Regions from separate parts of the Homo sapiens genome. Here all the other regions are linked to region 1. The links are contacts of gene promoters, found by promoter capture Hi-C in human tissues and cell types (Jung and others, 2019). All regions are on one chromosome and are shown on one strand. The core of a region is centred on a gene start or on the middle of the fragment in contact, and the rest is flanking DNA. Distances in the headings are between cores, read along the strand shown. Region 1 holds the start of SHISA6 (shisa family member 6). Region 2 has its middle 200 kb from the start of SHISA6. Region 3 overlaps SHISA6 (shisa family member 6).

Region 1 (5,074 bases), core at 1,226-3,725:
CTGATTAAAACCCACCAACAGTTCCCCAGCAATTGTAGAATAAATTCAAGTTCTTTGCAAGGGAGGATTCAATACCCTCCTGCTAGCCTTATTTGGAAGACTCCCTCAGGGTTCACGCTAAACTGCTTGCATCCCTGCTCACACACCTTAACCACTTCCTGTCTTTCTGGTTCTGCTAAGGATGTTCCCTCTGCTGGGAGCCTCCTTCCCCTCTTGCTTGCTGTATTAACTCGTAATCCATTCTTCAAGATTCTGCTCTACCTCATTGAGAAAGCTACATTTGACCCCCATCTGTCCCCTTGCAGGCCTAGGCTGGGTGCCTGTCTTCTGCTCTCAGAGCACCCTGCCCGCCTTTATCATGAGACGTAACCTTGCCATGTGGAAATCATTTGTTTATCTGTCTCCCTAATGGTCTACAAGGTCCCCCTCCTTGAGGAAAGGGACTCTCTTATTCATTCTGCTGGCAGGGAGTAGGCACTAAACAAATGTTTGTTGGACAGAATCTTTAAGAAGAAGGTGGCAACTGAGAAGTTAAGGGAACGGGAGGAAGTGCAGAGGAAGAGGGAGGGAATGGAGACAGTAGCAAGTGGGGAGCTGCGGGGATAGTCTGTGCACCGCCCCCCACCCCACCCCCTAGTCAATATCAGGATCTCCCTCTTGTGTCTTGGAGTCTGAGTTCGAGCTCTAATATATCCATTCCACGGTTCCCAAAAGAGGAACTCTTCTGTTCCTGGATAGGGATCCCTTGTTTAGGTCACACATGAGTGGGACTGAACAGAAAGTCTCAGGGAAAATTCTCTACCGCCCTCGCTCTGACAGCCTGTTCCCTGCCTTCAGTTCCCTGCCTTCAACCAAAGCACGCTGGTCACGCAGGCAGAATCTTGGCCTTGGCCATCGCTTTTTGTTCTCAGTTCCCCCTACCTCCTCCAAGGACACACGCCAAGGATGGTACTATGATTCTCTTTTGGGATGGCCTCGTAGCTGTGAAAGTTAGACTCAGGCCTCCTTTCCACAGACCCAGACACGCAACTACCCCGGAAAGCACCCCCGCCCTGCACCCCCATCCTCCTCACCTCCCATAGGAGCTGCAGCACAGAGATTTCAACACAGGGGTTACAAAGCTGAGTCTCAGAGGTTCAGATAGCTTTCTAATGGCCTCGAGGCTCCGCGGGGAAAAAAAAAAGTATAGCAAAGAGTTGCCATCCAGTCCTGGGGCTGTCTAGCGCCTTTATGCGTAGTGGGTACGGGGTTGGGGAAAGAGTGACCAAGGGGAAGAGAGTGTAGGCTCAGCTCACGGGTCGCCCAACAGCCTCAGACAAGCCACTTGACCCCTGGACTCAGTTTGGGAACCTGTAGCAATGGGTTTGACCTCTTCTCCTGGCTGCGAGTATCACCACTAGGGAGAGGCAAAGGCTTGCAGAAACCCCAACTCCCGCTCAGGCAGCGCGCTGCCCCGGGCTCCGGTAGGGTGGGGACTGGTCGCGAAGGCTAGAGAAGGCAATGGCAGGGGAGGTCAGTCCCTGCCGCGGGCCGGCTGCAGAGCGGACGTTCCGCCCTGCTCCCGGCCCCCTCTTCGCCCGCCGGGTTCGCCGTGTCGAATAACTGCTGTCCGGAGCTTTCGTGACGCGGAGCTTCAACTGCTGCGATCCGGAAGAAGCGAAAAGGAGTCCCCCCCGCCCCGCACCCTGAGCGCCCGGGCGTGCAAACGTGGGTGGCGGAGAGCGGCTGCCCTCCCCTCCCCTGTCCCCCCTCCCCTCGCGGCGCTCCCGTGTGTGCGGGTGTGTGAGTGCGTGTGTCTCCCTCGCTCACTCTCGCACACGTTCCGGCACTAGTGCAGGCGGCGAGCCGGCGGCTCTCCGCTCGCTCGCTCCGGCAGCTGCGTTCCCGCCTCGCCCCGCCGCCGCCGCCGCCGCCGCCGCCGCCGCCTCTGCAGTCGCAGCCGGGCATGGTGAGTGAGTGAGGTCCAGCCGCCGCGCGCTCTCCCGGCTCGCCGCCGGACCCCAGCCTCAACCGGCTCCGTCCCAGGGAGCCAGCCTGCGGCGGGAGCGCGCTGCGGGGCCGGGCGGCTGGGGGACCCGGGCGGCCGAGCTGCGCCTGGAGGGGCGGCCCGTGCGCTCTCGGTTCCAGGCGCGCAGGGCCGCGGGACCCCGTCTTGGGAGCGGGCTCTACGCCCCTCCCGGCTCCGAGTCTCTCTCCTCGAGGGCTGCGCGCACCCTCCCCGCCCGCCTGCCCGCGGTTCTCCTCCTGCTCCCGGAGCGCCAGTCGCCCCACCCCGTGACCGGCTCCCCGTCTTGTCCCGCAGGACCCGCCCGGACGGGACCACGCCGCCGCCGCCGCCGCCGCCGCCCGGAGCCGCGCTTCGGGTCCTGCCTGAGCCGAGCCGCGCGCGGGGCCGCAGTCACCGCCGGCGGGGGATGGGGCTGCCCAGGAGGCGCGCCGAGCCCGCAGGGGGAGCGCGGAGCCGGCGCGCAGCCTGAGAGCCCGAGCAGCCCGCGCCGGGCCGGTCCGTGCGCACCGCGCGCCGCCGCCGCCACTGCCGCCCGCGCCTCGATGGCGCCATCGCCCCGGAGCCGCTGACCGCTCAGCGCCTCCAGCCCGGCCCGCGCGGCGGGTCCTCCGAGCCCGGCCCGCCGGGGGAGCGGCCTGCCGCGGAAGCCTCCCCGCGCCCTCCCGCCCGGCCCCGCCATGGCGCTGCGGCGCCTCCTGCTGCTGCTGCTGCTCTCGCTGGAGTCCCTGGACCTGCTGCCCAGCGTCCACGGAGCCCGCGGCCGCGCCGCCAACCGGACCCTGAGTGCAGGCGGCGCTGCCGTCGGGGGCCGGAGGGCCGGGGGCGCCCTGGCACGGGGCGGCCGCGAGCTGAACGGCACCGCCCGGGCGCCCGGAATCCCGGAGGCGGGAAGCCGGCGGGGGCAGCCCGCGGCGGCTGTGGCGGCGGCGGCCAGCGCGGCCGTCACCTACGAGACGTGCTGGGGCTACTACGACGTGAGCGGCCAGTACGACAAGGAGTTCGAGTGTAACAACAGCGAGAGCGGCTACCTGTACTGCTGCGGTACCTGCTACTACCGCTTCTGCTGCAAGAAGCGCCACGAGAAGCTGGACCAGCGCCAGTGCACCAACTACCAGAGCCCGGTGTGGGTACAGACGCCCAGCACCAAGGTGGTGTCGCCGGGGCCCGAGAACAAGTACGACCCGGAGAAGGACAAGACCAACTTCACCGTCTACATCACCTGCGGGGTGATCGCCTTCGTCATCGTGGCCGGCGTCTTCGCCAAGGTCTCCTACGACAAGGCCCACCGCCCTCCACGGGAGATGAACATCCACAGGTGAGAGCGCCGCGTGCCGCGCGCCCCGGTCTCCCCGCGGCCTCACCCTCTCAGCTTGCTTCCCCTGTCCTCTTCACTCTCGGCATCATCACACCTCCCCAGGCCCTCTAGTCATTTCCACCATCGCTCCTTTTGCATGCAATAAATCAGGGTCTTCTTGTGCCCCCTCCTCCATTTCTTCAGAACCGGGAATGCATGCTTTGGTGGTAGGGGGATTTACAAGGCAGAGTAAGAATTGGTTGAGTGCATGAAGTTCCAAGTGTAAGAATGTTACAAATTCTGTAATCGTGGATGAGGATCCAGGGTTCTGCTTTCCTGGCATGAGGGCACTTTGGTGTAGGTTCTTAATGGCATTTAGTTTTTTGAGTCAAATCAGAGTGTCATCTTCAATATAGGAAACTGACCAATGTTGGAACCTTACTGAAAGCGGTACCAAGTGGCTTAGGGTCAACTGAGATGTTCTCGTACATTAGGAATTGGGGTTTTATAGAAAGGATGCCTCCTGCCGGAAGTAGGGATAAAGATTTCTCCATTCCATGTTGACCAAGCACAGATGGTGTCTCCTCATTGCATCCTGCGGAGTGGGATGTTTATCTTTCCTGCTGAGACTAGAGGACTCGTTCTTTGAAACCCTGTAGGCAGAACTCTGAGTTAACAGTACTCGCCTGTGTTAAACCTGGTGGGGCATCTTTCACTGCTTACGTTCGAAAGACAGTGGGAGCTGCCTCCTACCAAAACTTACGCCAAGAGCTCAAACTATGGCAGTCCCTGGTTGCACGCTGAATGCTGCCCCGACGCACCATCTTGCCCCCCAGTGAGCCCTTGGGGAAGTCAAAGCCAAGGGGATGACAGAAACCCAGCCTCCCCTTAGAACTCTAGGAATGACACACCCAGAGGATGCAGAGTTAGCTCGGCTTCCTGTCCCCTCATGTTGATGGATGGCTGGACATGGTGCAAGAGTCCTCTCAGGGAACAAACCCTGCCCCGGGAGATGCCTCCATTTCTGTTGCATGGTGTGGGCACTGCCCTAGTCACCATGAGCACCCCCCAGACCACTGCTTGTCAGTCAGTCCTGCAGGCCCCCACACTGACCCATTCACCTTGAGCTCTTCTCTGCGTCCTGCTTGTTATTCTTACCACCTGAAAACCGCCTTCCTCGCTGCTGTGCACATTAATCACCCCTGCCTTGCTGAAGAGAGAGAAAGGCAGATAGAAATTTCTAGGCATGTTAAAAGAGCTGATTTTTTTTTTCTGCTTGATACTGTGGGTGTTGAGAGAAATGATACTCCCTGGAAGGTTTTATTGAGTCAAATCCACAAAGGGTGGGTACCTCAAACTCGCGTGCTGGAATTGGAGTGATTCCAAAAGGAGACCCTTTTATAAGGCTCTGTCACCCTGAGGTGCCTCCACCCTGTCTTCCACTTGCACCTCATGTCTCAGATAGTGCAGTAAGTATCCTCTTGTGTGAGAAACAGCCTGTGGTCAGTCTTGGCTCTCAAATGCAGAAGACAAGTGGGACGGTGAGCAAAATAAAGGCAAGAGACAGTTTCTTTTGCATCTTGTCTGGCAAAGAATTTTCTGTCTCGGCTCAGTGTGGAAAGAAAAGAAGGAATTGCCCGTGGGCAGGTGCTGTCCTGAAGCAGATGTGCTGGTCCTTATCATCCTTACACCTCTGCCTCAAGACTTGGAGGCTTGTCTCCTCTTCCCCTTCCCCTGTGGCCTTGGCCTCTCATTAAACCTTCTGCTCTGAC
Region 2 (5,074 bases), core at 959-3,458, 200 kb before region 1:
GCTAGAGGGTGTAGTTGCTACACACTTTTAAACAACCAAATCTTAGAAGAACTCACTGGCTATTGTGAGGACAGAACCAAGCGGGGAGAGTGCTAAACCATTTATGAGAAATCCACCCCCATGCTTCAATCACCTCCCACCAGGCCCCACCCCCAACACTGGGAATTGCAATTCAACATAAGACTTGCTGGAGACACAGATCCAAACCATATCACAGCATAATTAACTTCCTGGGGGATTTCTGCCAGTCAATTTTAAGCCCACAGGATGATTCCTGGCAAAACTGAAACCAAGCTTTCTCCATCCTTTCCTTCCAGCCTTCTCTGTCTATCTCCCCACCCCAGACAACACGGTTGCTGTTGTGGCTCCAGACTAGCAATGTGACACCACTGCTATTACATAGAAAATGCTATTTCTGCAGCAGGCATATACATGGTCTACATTGTGTGTATGTATGTGTGTGTGTGTGTGTGTGTGTGTGTGTGTGTATGGGGTGCAGGTGGTGGTGGGGTCTCTTGCACTTAGAAACCATGCATATCTCATTGACTCAACTATTCAGGTTCTTTGAGTTAAAGGAGGTAGAAATCCTCCTCGACCAGTTTAAGCAATATAAGGAAAGTGATTGGTTCATGGAACTAGGGGAATCTTAGGGTGGCTCAAGCTGCAGGTTGGAATGTCTGCAGGGTTTGTACAATATCTTCAGAATTCTCTGTCTTTATTGCTGTCTGTCTCTCCCCATCACTCAGCTATTTGTCTCTGCTTGTCTTTGTTTTTAGTTAAGCTTTGTCCATATGATAACAGAATTCTGTCCTCATCTTAGACCTGTAGCTCCATCACTGCTTACATGTAATGTAAGCTTATGTTGTCTTTGGAAATTTTGCCTTCTAAAGAAAAGCAATGTTTTATAGGATGCATTTACGTAAATCTCCCCAAAGGGCTTTGATTCATCTTGCTTGGGTCTTGAGTCCAAACTAAAACCAATCAACGTGTTTGGATTGTGGGAATGAGTTTGCAAATGACCCCTCTTCGTGATATGCCTAACTCTGTGGTAGAAGATGCAAAGCCACCTGGATTGACAGCCCCATCACACAAGGGCTGGGAAGTCAGTTACCAAAAGGAAGGGAAGCAGAGCACATAAGAAAGAATGCCTGTTCTGTATGCTGACCTTTTATGCATTTGGCAAGTAGGACATGTGAGAGTTTAGGATTGAATTAATTCTATTACCAGGAAGTGTGGGAATCCTCAGTTCTCGTCTAACTTGGGAGAAAGAATTCAGCCAAGAGACATTTAGTAACGTAAAGCAAAAGGTTTATTAAGGAGATAAGAGTACACTCCAAGAGAAGAGCGAGCTTGTGTGGCTGGAAAAGTACCAGTAGCAGTGCTTATTTAAAGAGACCGTATACTCTGAAAGATGAGTCAGAGTGGGCTGCTTAAAAGAGAGAGTGAGCCAGCAGCAGTAAGAGTTCTCCACTGTGGTTTTTATTATGCCAGATTTTTTTATTTAAGTTCCCACCTCTGTTTTCAGTCTCTGCCTTTGTGTTTGTCTAGTTTTCCTGCTTCTGTCCTAAGACTCTGCCTTTTCCCCACCTAGTTCCTGCTCCCAGGTTAGTAGGAGTCTCCCTTACTGTCAGTTGATGCACATGCATGCACGGGCCTGGTGTTGGATATAAATTCTACCTAATGAGAGTGTTGCTCATTACTGCCACCCCAGTAAGGTCATATAGTGGTTAAACCTGTACATACTGCACCTGTGTATCTCCTGGGATTTTTTTTTCCTTTGCCCTCTTTCCATCCCTATTAGCATATAGCTAGCTACATTCTGACAGGTTAACTGCAGAGTGAAAGATTACTGACATTTTTTTCTGCATAGATATTTCCCCTCTTCTCTGCTTATATCTAGTATGCTTGTTTTGTGTGATCTCTGGGATGTGAGATTTTCCAGACCCCACTTTTCTCAGGGACTCTCCATCCTGCTCATGTCTAGCTATCTGCCTACTCTAACAATTCCACTTTAGAAGTACCAAAGAAACTAAGAAACTCAGTGTATGGCCAAGAAGTTAGAGTGAGACCTTTTTGCCGGTTAAAGCATAATGAGAAATTGGATAGGAGAGAATCTGACATTATAAATAAATTGAGACCATTTATTTCTAGAAGAGAAAGAGGATTTCATTTTTAGACCTTGGTTTCTTTTTGGTTTTCTGTTAAAAATTTAGACATCCTTATTTTGTTACTTGGGCTATAATCTTGGGGGATACTGTATTGGTCAAATAGGCTGCACCGTACTTTGAGATGGAAAGTTATCACAGACAGGAAGAAAAAAAAAGTGTTTTTTTCTGCTTTCACTGTCTCACTCACCATAACACTTCTGACACCAGATGTGTGGAGGCCTGTTTCCCCACACGCCAAGCAATCCTCCAGCAGACACCAGCTGGGTGACCTCTCATTCAACTCAATTCTGACCTTATCTGCCTGGAGTAGATCTATACCAGTTCCCACAGGTTAAGGGCTCAGTCCTACAAAACTGTCTCCAACTTTAGATGCTAGTAGCAACTAGTTGGTTGTCATATATACTTATGACCAACTGGCTATCAATCAGAGGTTCCTATAACTCCTTTCTCAGGTTTGGTTGATTTGCTAGAATGGCTCACAGAACTCAGGGAAATACTTTACTTACATTTACCCATTCATCATAATGGATATTATGAAGGATAAAAATGAACAGCCAATGGAAAGGATTTGTAGAGCAAAGCAGCTGGGAAGGGGTACAGAGGGTTCACACCCTCTCTGGGTCACCTTCTAGGAACCTCCACATGCTTAGCTATTCAAAAACTCTCTGAACCCCGCCCTTTTGGATTTTCATAAAGGCTTCTCTTGATAGGCAGGACTGAATAAATAATTGAGCATTGGTGTTCAACTCAAGCTTCAGCCCCTCTCCGTTTCTGGAGGTTGGAGGCTGGGCTGGAACTTCAAGCCCTCTCTCTAATCCTGCCATGGTTGGTACTTCTGATGAATAGCCCCATCCTGAAGCTATCTAGAGGCTGACAGCCATCAGTCTACTCATTAGCATATAAAAGACTCTCTTATCACTCTGGAGGTTACAAGGGTTTTAGGAAAGAAAGAAGATAAAATACATATATATCTTATTATAAATCACAATATCACAAAAGTAGACTAGAATGTGAGTATTTGGTGTGCTGTATTCTACGGCTTTGGAAAATGTTTGATTAAAGTATATTTTGTACCTCCTTCAGAGACTTCCATGGGCCATAGATATACTGCTCCTCTCACGGTTTCAAAGATGGTACAAAGGTGGGGTAGTGATTCCCCAGGAGTAGGCTCAGGAAGTGGGGACGGAACTGCTTACCTTCCTGTGGGAACAACCATATTCCTATTTACCATGGATTGTGTGTTGAGCCGCTGGCTTAAAAGAAAATAAAAAATAGTGTGGACTGCAAGTGAGGTGATGATTCTGCCTCTGTCCCCAAACTTCCTCCTCTTCTCAGTGAAAAAGGTGAAATTTCCATCCTTTCTTCGTGCTTCTCCTTCTGAAACTGACTTTGCAAAAATTGTATCAGTGAGAAAATCATGGCAGTAAAAGAGATCTGATTTAACCCACCCTCCATCTTGCCTTTCCCTTAATCATTCTTGGGCTTAGGCTAAGCTAACTTTGGGAGACATTTGGTTTATAGTTTAAATGATAATAGGCCTTCACCAAAACTCAGCTGGCTTTGTACAGCTAATCAGGCTAGGAGGAGGAGAGAAGCGATTCTGCTAAGGTGTAGACATAAACAATTGCCAGCCATTCCTGTGGATAACACCACTACTGTAGATTGGCCTTTTAAGACATCCTTTCAGGGTTTATTGTTTGTTCGTTTTTTTGGCATGTCTGACACCCATGGCTCCACCTGGACCTGCCAACCCCACTCCTGTGGACCCACTCAGAAGTGATTCAGCTCAAGAGGTCAGCTTCAGCTCCTTATAATTTTATTTCAGCCCCAACCAATCAGCAGCAAGCACCTATTAGAGAGGTGCTTCTATTATACACCCATTACAGAGGTGCTTCTATTACCTAGGTACATTTCAGCCCCACCTTTTCCCCTAAAACGCCTTTGAAAAACCCCTACCTGTGAGCCTTGGATGAGATTAATTTGAGTACTAACTCCATCTCCCAAAAGGCATGGCTGGCCTCATGTCTATTCAACTCTTTCTTTACTGCAATGCCATAGTCTTTATTTGTGCAACAGGCACAAAGGACACCTCAGGCAGTTAGACTTCTGACAATCCCCTTTGTGGCTTTTCTCCCCAACCCTACCTCCACAACATACAAAGAGAAAAGAGACCCTATTCTGATAGGTCAGAATCCCAGGACACTGTTTGTTCCATGGACATTAGTGGAAGTGGTCACTGTGTTACAATTCTTTACCCTTGCTCCCTCTGTCTGTTTGATAAAGAGACCTAGGCAAGACCTGCCTTTTTGGGACAGACCTGTTCAGATATTTTCTGCCACTCTACTTCCTCTATGCCCAAGCAATAGGAAGCATGCCTATTAGATATTAACCATTCTTTTACATATAATTAAAATACTGCATTTACCACATCAAAGTTAAATGTATACTAGGAACTAATTCAGGTTCTTATTTCGATTTCACTCATCTGCTTGTATATTTGTATAAAAACACCATGGTGGTTTCATGACACTGAATTTATAATGTTCTGATGTCTGGTAAGACAACTTTCCTCACTAGGCCTCTCTCGCTTATTTTATTGGCTGTTCTCTGCCAAATGCATTTATTCTACCAAATGAAAATATAAAGTAGTTTATTTAATTAAAAAAACGCCTGTGGGGACACTAGTTAGATTGCAATAAATTTAAGCATTAATTTAGGGAAAATGGACATTTGGTAACATTAAGTATCCTCATCCAAAACATGATAAGTAAAACATTTACTATAATATCTGTCATATAAATGTTGTATTAGTGCTAGTAATTATTATTATTATCATAACTATTTCCATATGTTCAGATCTTGTTTTATATTTTTCAGTAATATTTTATACATTTTAAGATGTAGGT
Region 3 (5,074 bases), core at 1,643-4,142, 190 kb after region 1:
GTTGTCTCTTTAAGGCAGGGATATGTTCTACACATCTGTGGCTACGGCGCTAAGCAGAATGCTTGGCATTCAGTAGTGTTTGTATTAGTTATCTATTGCAGCATAACAAATTATTTCAAAACTTGGTGGCTTAAAGCAACACACATTTATGATTTCACAGCTTCTCTGGGTCAGGAATCTGGATATGGATTAGCTGTGTGCCTTTGGATCATGGTTTCCCACAGGGCTGCAATCACACAGTTGCTGGGGCTACAGTCTTCTGAAGGCTCAGCTGGGGCAGGATCCACTTTCTTTTTTTTTTTTTTTTTTTTTTTGAGACAGAGTTTTGCTCTGTCGCCCAGGCTGGAGTGCAGTGGCACGATCTCTGCTTACTGCAAGCTCCGCCTGCCGGGTTCATGCCATTCTCCTGCCTCAGCCTCCCAAGTAGCTGGGACTACAGGCACCCACTACCACGCCCGGTTAATTTTTTGTATTTTTAGTAGAAACGGTGTTTCACCATGTTAGCCAGGATGGTCTCATCTGGATCTCCTGACCCCGTGATCCGCCTGCCTCGGCCTCCCAAAGTGCTAGGATTACAGGTGTGAGCCACCGTGCCCGGCCAAGGGATCCACTTTCAAATCCACTCAGTGTTTGCTGGCAGGATCCAGTTCCTTGTGGGCTGTTGGACTGAGGATCTCAGTTCCTTGCCAGTTGTTATCTGGACACTGCCCTCAGTTCCTTGCCACATGGGCCCCTCCAACATGGCAGCTGCATCGTCAGAGTGGTCAAGAGAGAGGGCCAGGTAGAGAGAATACAAAAAAGATGGAAGTCACGGTCTTTTATTACCTAATCTCAGAAGTGCCATCCCATCACTTTTGCAAGTCACAAGGTACATTCAGTGGGAGGGCATTTCACACAGGTGTTAATGTTGGGGGAGGGAACCATAGGAGCCAGTTCAGAAAGTTTCATCCCATAGTGTTCAAAGTCCATCTGTCCAATTGAACTTTTTACCCATTAAAATTCAAATATCCGGCCAGGCGCCTTGGCTCTCACCTGTAGTCCCAGCACTTCGGGAGGCCAAGGCGGGTGGATCTCCTGAGGTTGGGAGTTCAAGACCAGCCTGACCAACAATGGAGAAACCCCATCTCTACTTAAAAAAAAAAAAAAAAAAAAATTAGCCAGGCATGGTGGCGCATGCCTATAATCCCACCTACTCAGGAGGCTGAGGAAGGAGAATCGCTTGAACCTGGGAGGCAGAGGTTGCAGTGAGCTGAGATTGTGCCATTGCACTCCAGCCTGGGTGACAAGAGTGAAACTCCGTCTCAAAAATAAATAAATAAATAAATCCAATCAATCAATCAATCAGTCAATCAAATATCCCTCATAGGAATTGAAAAAAAAAAAAACAATAAACTTTAAACTTTATCTGCATTTAGCCTTCAGGTTGAAAGTGATTATTACATCATGGCCATCAAGATAGTTACCTACAATCAGGTATTTGAATTGGAAAAGGAAGAAAGGGAACTAACATTTGTCAATGACCCATTTTCTGTGGTAAATACTAGTAGATGCCCCAACGAAGGTATTATCTCCTCACTTTTGAGATGAGGAAACTGAGGATCACAGACTTCAATAATTTGCTAAGTGTCACACAGCTAAGAAGAGTTAAGATTACAAGCCAGAGTTTTTCTGACCCTAAAACTACATTCTTTCCATCGATTTTAGTCATTAGGGCCATTTGTTGAACGTTTCTGGTTCTCCCCACTCTTGAGTCCATAGGAGAACTGCAGTTTCTGGCCCTTTTGTGATTGGACGAGGCCACGAGACTGGTTGTGGCCCATGTGTTGTGAGTAGAATTGAAGTCTTACTTCCAGGATCAAGTGTTTTACCGCAAGACCCTTAAGAGGCCCCTGGCATGGCACCAGCAAAGTTTGAGTCTCTGAGGGACTATGATCAACAGATGCTCCCATCCTGCCTTCTGCTAAATCCACAATGAACATGTTGCACGAACAAGAAATCAACTTTTGTTGTTTGGAGTCATGGGGGGTTTGGAGGTGTTTGTTACTCCAGCATAATCCACCCTATCCTGACTGATGTATCACTGAAGACGAAGGAGAAGGGAGTAAGGGAGTGTAGAGGCTGCCTCAAGAGAGCCCTATTTATGTCTTATGGCAGCATGAGGGCTCACCTTTACCTTGGCTGACCTGGGCTCCATGGTGTCTGCCTACCAACCGACTTCTATTTCTGGATGCACCTGGGCATAATAAGAACCAGAGGCACCTACAGCATTACTCAGAGGTAGGGTGTGAACCCCATTGCCTCATTCATTCTGAATGCTTCTTACTTTGGAACAGCAAAGAACACAAAGAGAGCAGGAGAAGTGTTATCCCTTCCCAAGCCTGTTCTGACACACATAGCACAGCACGAGGCTTTTGAAAGAGGCTTAACGGAAGCAGCATCCTCACATCAGAGCAGCTTGTCACGGAGGAGCCTTTGTGGCTGGAATGGGCATTTGCTAAGTTAGTCTCCCCTCACTGGGCTGGGGACTGGTTGACACAGGGCTGGGGTGCCAAGGTTTGGGATAATCTGGGGAGGGACTGAAGCATAGATTATGATGCCACCTGGCATGAGTTTCCCACATCTTCTTCCGTCGGAAAGACGGGATTCTCTTCTCATGTCCCCCCTGAGTCATCAGCCCAGCAGCTTGTTCTTCTGGTTGTTCATGTCTCCCCACTCTCCTCCATGCCACTGAGGATTGTACTTCCTCGCTGCTGCTGACTGTCCAGAATTCCTAGGTGGATACAGTCCCCTTGGTAGACAGCTGCACCCTCCACACAGGAAACAGCAGAGAGGGGAGTGTGGAGCAGGAAGAGCTGCCCTTTATGGCTCTGTCCCTCTTACCCACACCCACCACCACACAGGTTTGTGTGGCTGCCTTAGACTTTGCTCAAAGATGAAGGTATACCAACTGAGTAAAAGATGTAATATTTTCAACTGCATACCGAATCTAGCTTTTCCCATGGTCCAAGGAGGAAGCATCCTTCTAGAGGAAATGATATTGTGGACACTGCCAGCTGCTAATTTTGTTTCTTTAATCTCTTAAGTCCAAGATATTTTTCAGATCCATTCCTTCTTCAAACTTCCAGCATGTGAATTGGTACCCATGTTTCAGAAAACCCCACTGTAGCGATTGATCTTGTCCAAGAGCTATCCGTTCCCTGTTTCTCCAACAGCAGGTTTCCTTAAACCTAAGTTATTCAGTCTACAAACACACCCGGGCATGGGGTACCCTTGAAAGGTAGACTTAGGTATTCTAAGTTAAAAACACAACAAAAACAAAACAAAAACAAAAACAGAGTAGCTCTTCCTTGGGCTCACCTGTGTTTTGGCTTCCACCTATGATAGCACTTGAAGAATTGGTTCTGTTGCTAAGAAAAGTTGAAACATCACTGGCCTGTCCAACCACCCCCACACTCCCATTATATAGATGTAACAAACTGAGGCCAAATGCCTTGCCATTAGCAGAGTGCTCTTCAGGTACACTAGAATCCTAAAAGCAAATTTGCTTGTAAGAGGGAACAAAAAGATTCAAACTCACCCTGAAGGTTTATAAAACCAATATTGGGTTCTTCCATGAAAATGGAAGTTGAGAGATCAGAGAAGAAAGGATAAAAGCATTGAGATGGTGGTGGAAGAATGGTTTATTGAGAGGAAGCCACAAGGATTAAAAATAAAAATGGATTTCTGTGACTTCATGCTTCTGCATAGGATGGGTTCTGCTGTTGGCCATGAGCTTTTCTCTTGCAACTCTCAGTAGGGTGGACTCCTCTGAGTCAGTGAGAATGGGACAGTTGAATCAACAGTCAAAACGCTCAATTATCTGTAAGTTCTGCTTTGCTGCCATGATGTTTACACTCAGCCTACTTCATTGAAAGTCCTATAAAGAAAGTCTGAAGTTGAATGAGGCACAGGGCTTCGTGCCACCTAAACCCTAGGGCCACTGCATCTGAAATATATGTTCTATATGGGCAGTTATAGAGAAAATTTGATCTGTTACAGTTATTTAGCTTCAAGCAATGGTAACTGACCCTGCCTAACTTAAATAGAGAAGGAATTTATTGGGAGGACATAGAATAACTCATAAAAACAAAGGGGAGAAACCACTTTATCTGTGTCAATCCATCTACTGATTAATGGACAAATAAAATATACTACATTCATACAATAACATATGTCTACCCATAAAAAGAATGAAGTGCCAACACATGCTACAACAGACACAAAGCTTGAACACATTATGCAAAGTGAAAGAAGCCAGTGTTGTATTAAAAAAAAAAACCCACGTATTGTATGATTCCATTCATATGAAATATCCAGAATAGGCAAATCTATAGAAACAGAAAGTAGATTATTGGTTGCCTGGGGCTGGAGAGCAGGAGGAAATGGAGAGTGACTGCTGATGGGTACAGAGTTTCTTTGTGGGTGATGAAAATGTTCTAAATTTGATTGTGGTAACAGTTGCACAACTCTGTGAATACACAAAAAACCATTGAATCATATACTTCAAATGAGTGAATTGTATGGCATGTGAATTGTATCTCAATACAGCTATTATATATATCTTTTTAGTATACTTAAAGTTCTGGGGTACATGCGCAGAATGTGCAGGTTTGTTACATAGGTATACATGTGCCATGGTGGTTTGCTGCACCCATCAACCCGTCATCTACATCAAATGGTTCTTCTAATGCTATCCCTCCCCCTAGCCCCCCACCCACCGACAGGCCCCGGTGGGTGATGTTCCCCTCCCTGTGTCCATGTGTTCTCATTGTTCAACTCCCACTTATGAGTGAGGACATGCAGTGTTTGGTCTTTTGTTCCTGTGTTAGTTTGCTGAGAATGATGGTTTCCAGCTCCATCCGTGTCCCTGCAAAGGACATGAACTCATCCTTTTTTATGGCTGCATAGTATTCCATGGTGTATTTGTGCCACATTTTCTTTATCCAGGCTGTCATTGATGGGCATTTGGTTTGGTTCCAAGTCTTTGCTATTGTGAACAGTGCCATAATAAACATACATGTGTGTGTTCAACCAT

The links. The method cuts DNA at HindIII sites, captures the fragments that hold promoters and counts their contacts. A contact is called where the count stands out against the background at its distance.
Region 2: a fragment that was not itself captured here is called in contact with the fragment with the promoter of SHISA6 in region 1 in 4 of the 25 tissues and cell types used here (H1 embryonic stem cells, IMR-90 fibroblasts, adrenal gland and 1 more).
Region 3: a fragment that was not itself captured here is called in contact with the fragment with the promoter of SHISA6 in region 1 in 2 of the 25 tissues and cell types used here (dorsolateral prefrontal cortex and mesenchymal stem cells).

What each region holds. Positions count from the first base shown.
Region 1 is chr17:11,238,738-11,243,811 of GRCh38, forward strand. SHISA6 (shisa family member 6) reads left to right here and starts at 2,476. Exons shown (of 6, transcript NM_207386.4): 1 at 2,476-3,323. The coding sequence starts at 2,686. The HindIII fragment of the contact is 17,378 bases long and covers 1-5,074 here.
Region 2 is chr17:11,037,791-11,042,864 of GRCh38, forward strand. No RefSeq gene overlaps it. Among named protein-coding and RNA genes, the nearest start is that of SHISA6, 200 kb to the right of the region's middle. The HindIII fragment of the contact is 4,187 bases long and covers 116-4,302 here.
Region 3 is chr17:11,428,489-11,433,562 of GRCh38, forward strand. All of the region lies in intron 3 of SHISA6 (shisa family member 6), which reads left to right. Among named protein-coding and RNA genes, the nearest start is that of DNAH9, 170 kb to the right of the region's middle. The HindIII fragment of the contact is 7,046 bases long and covers 1-5,074 here.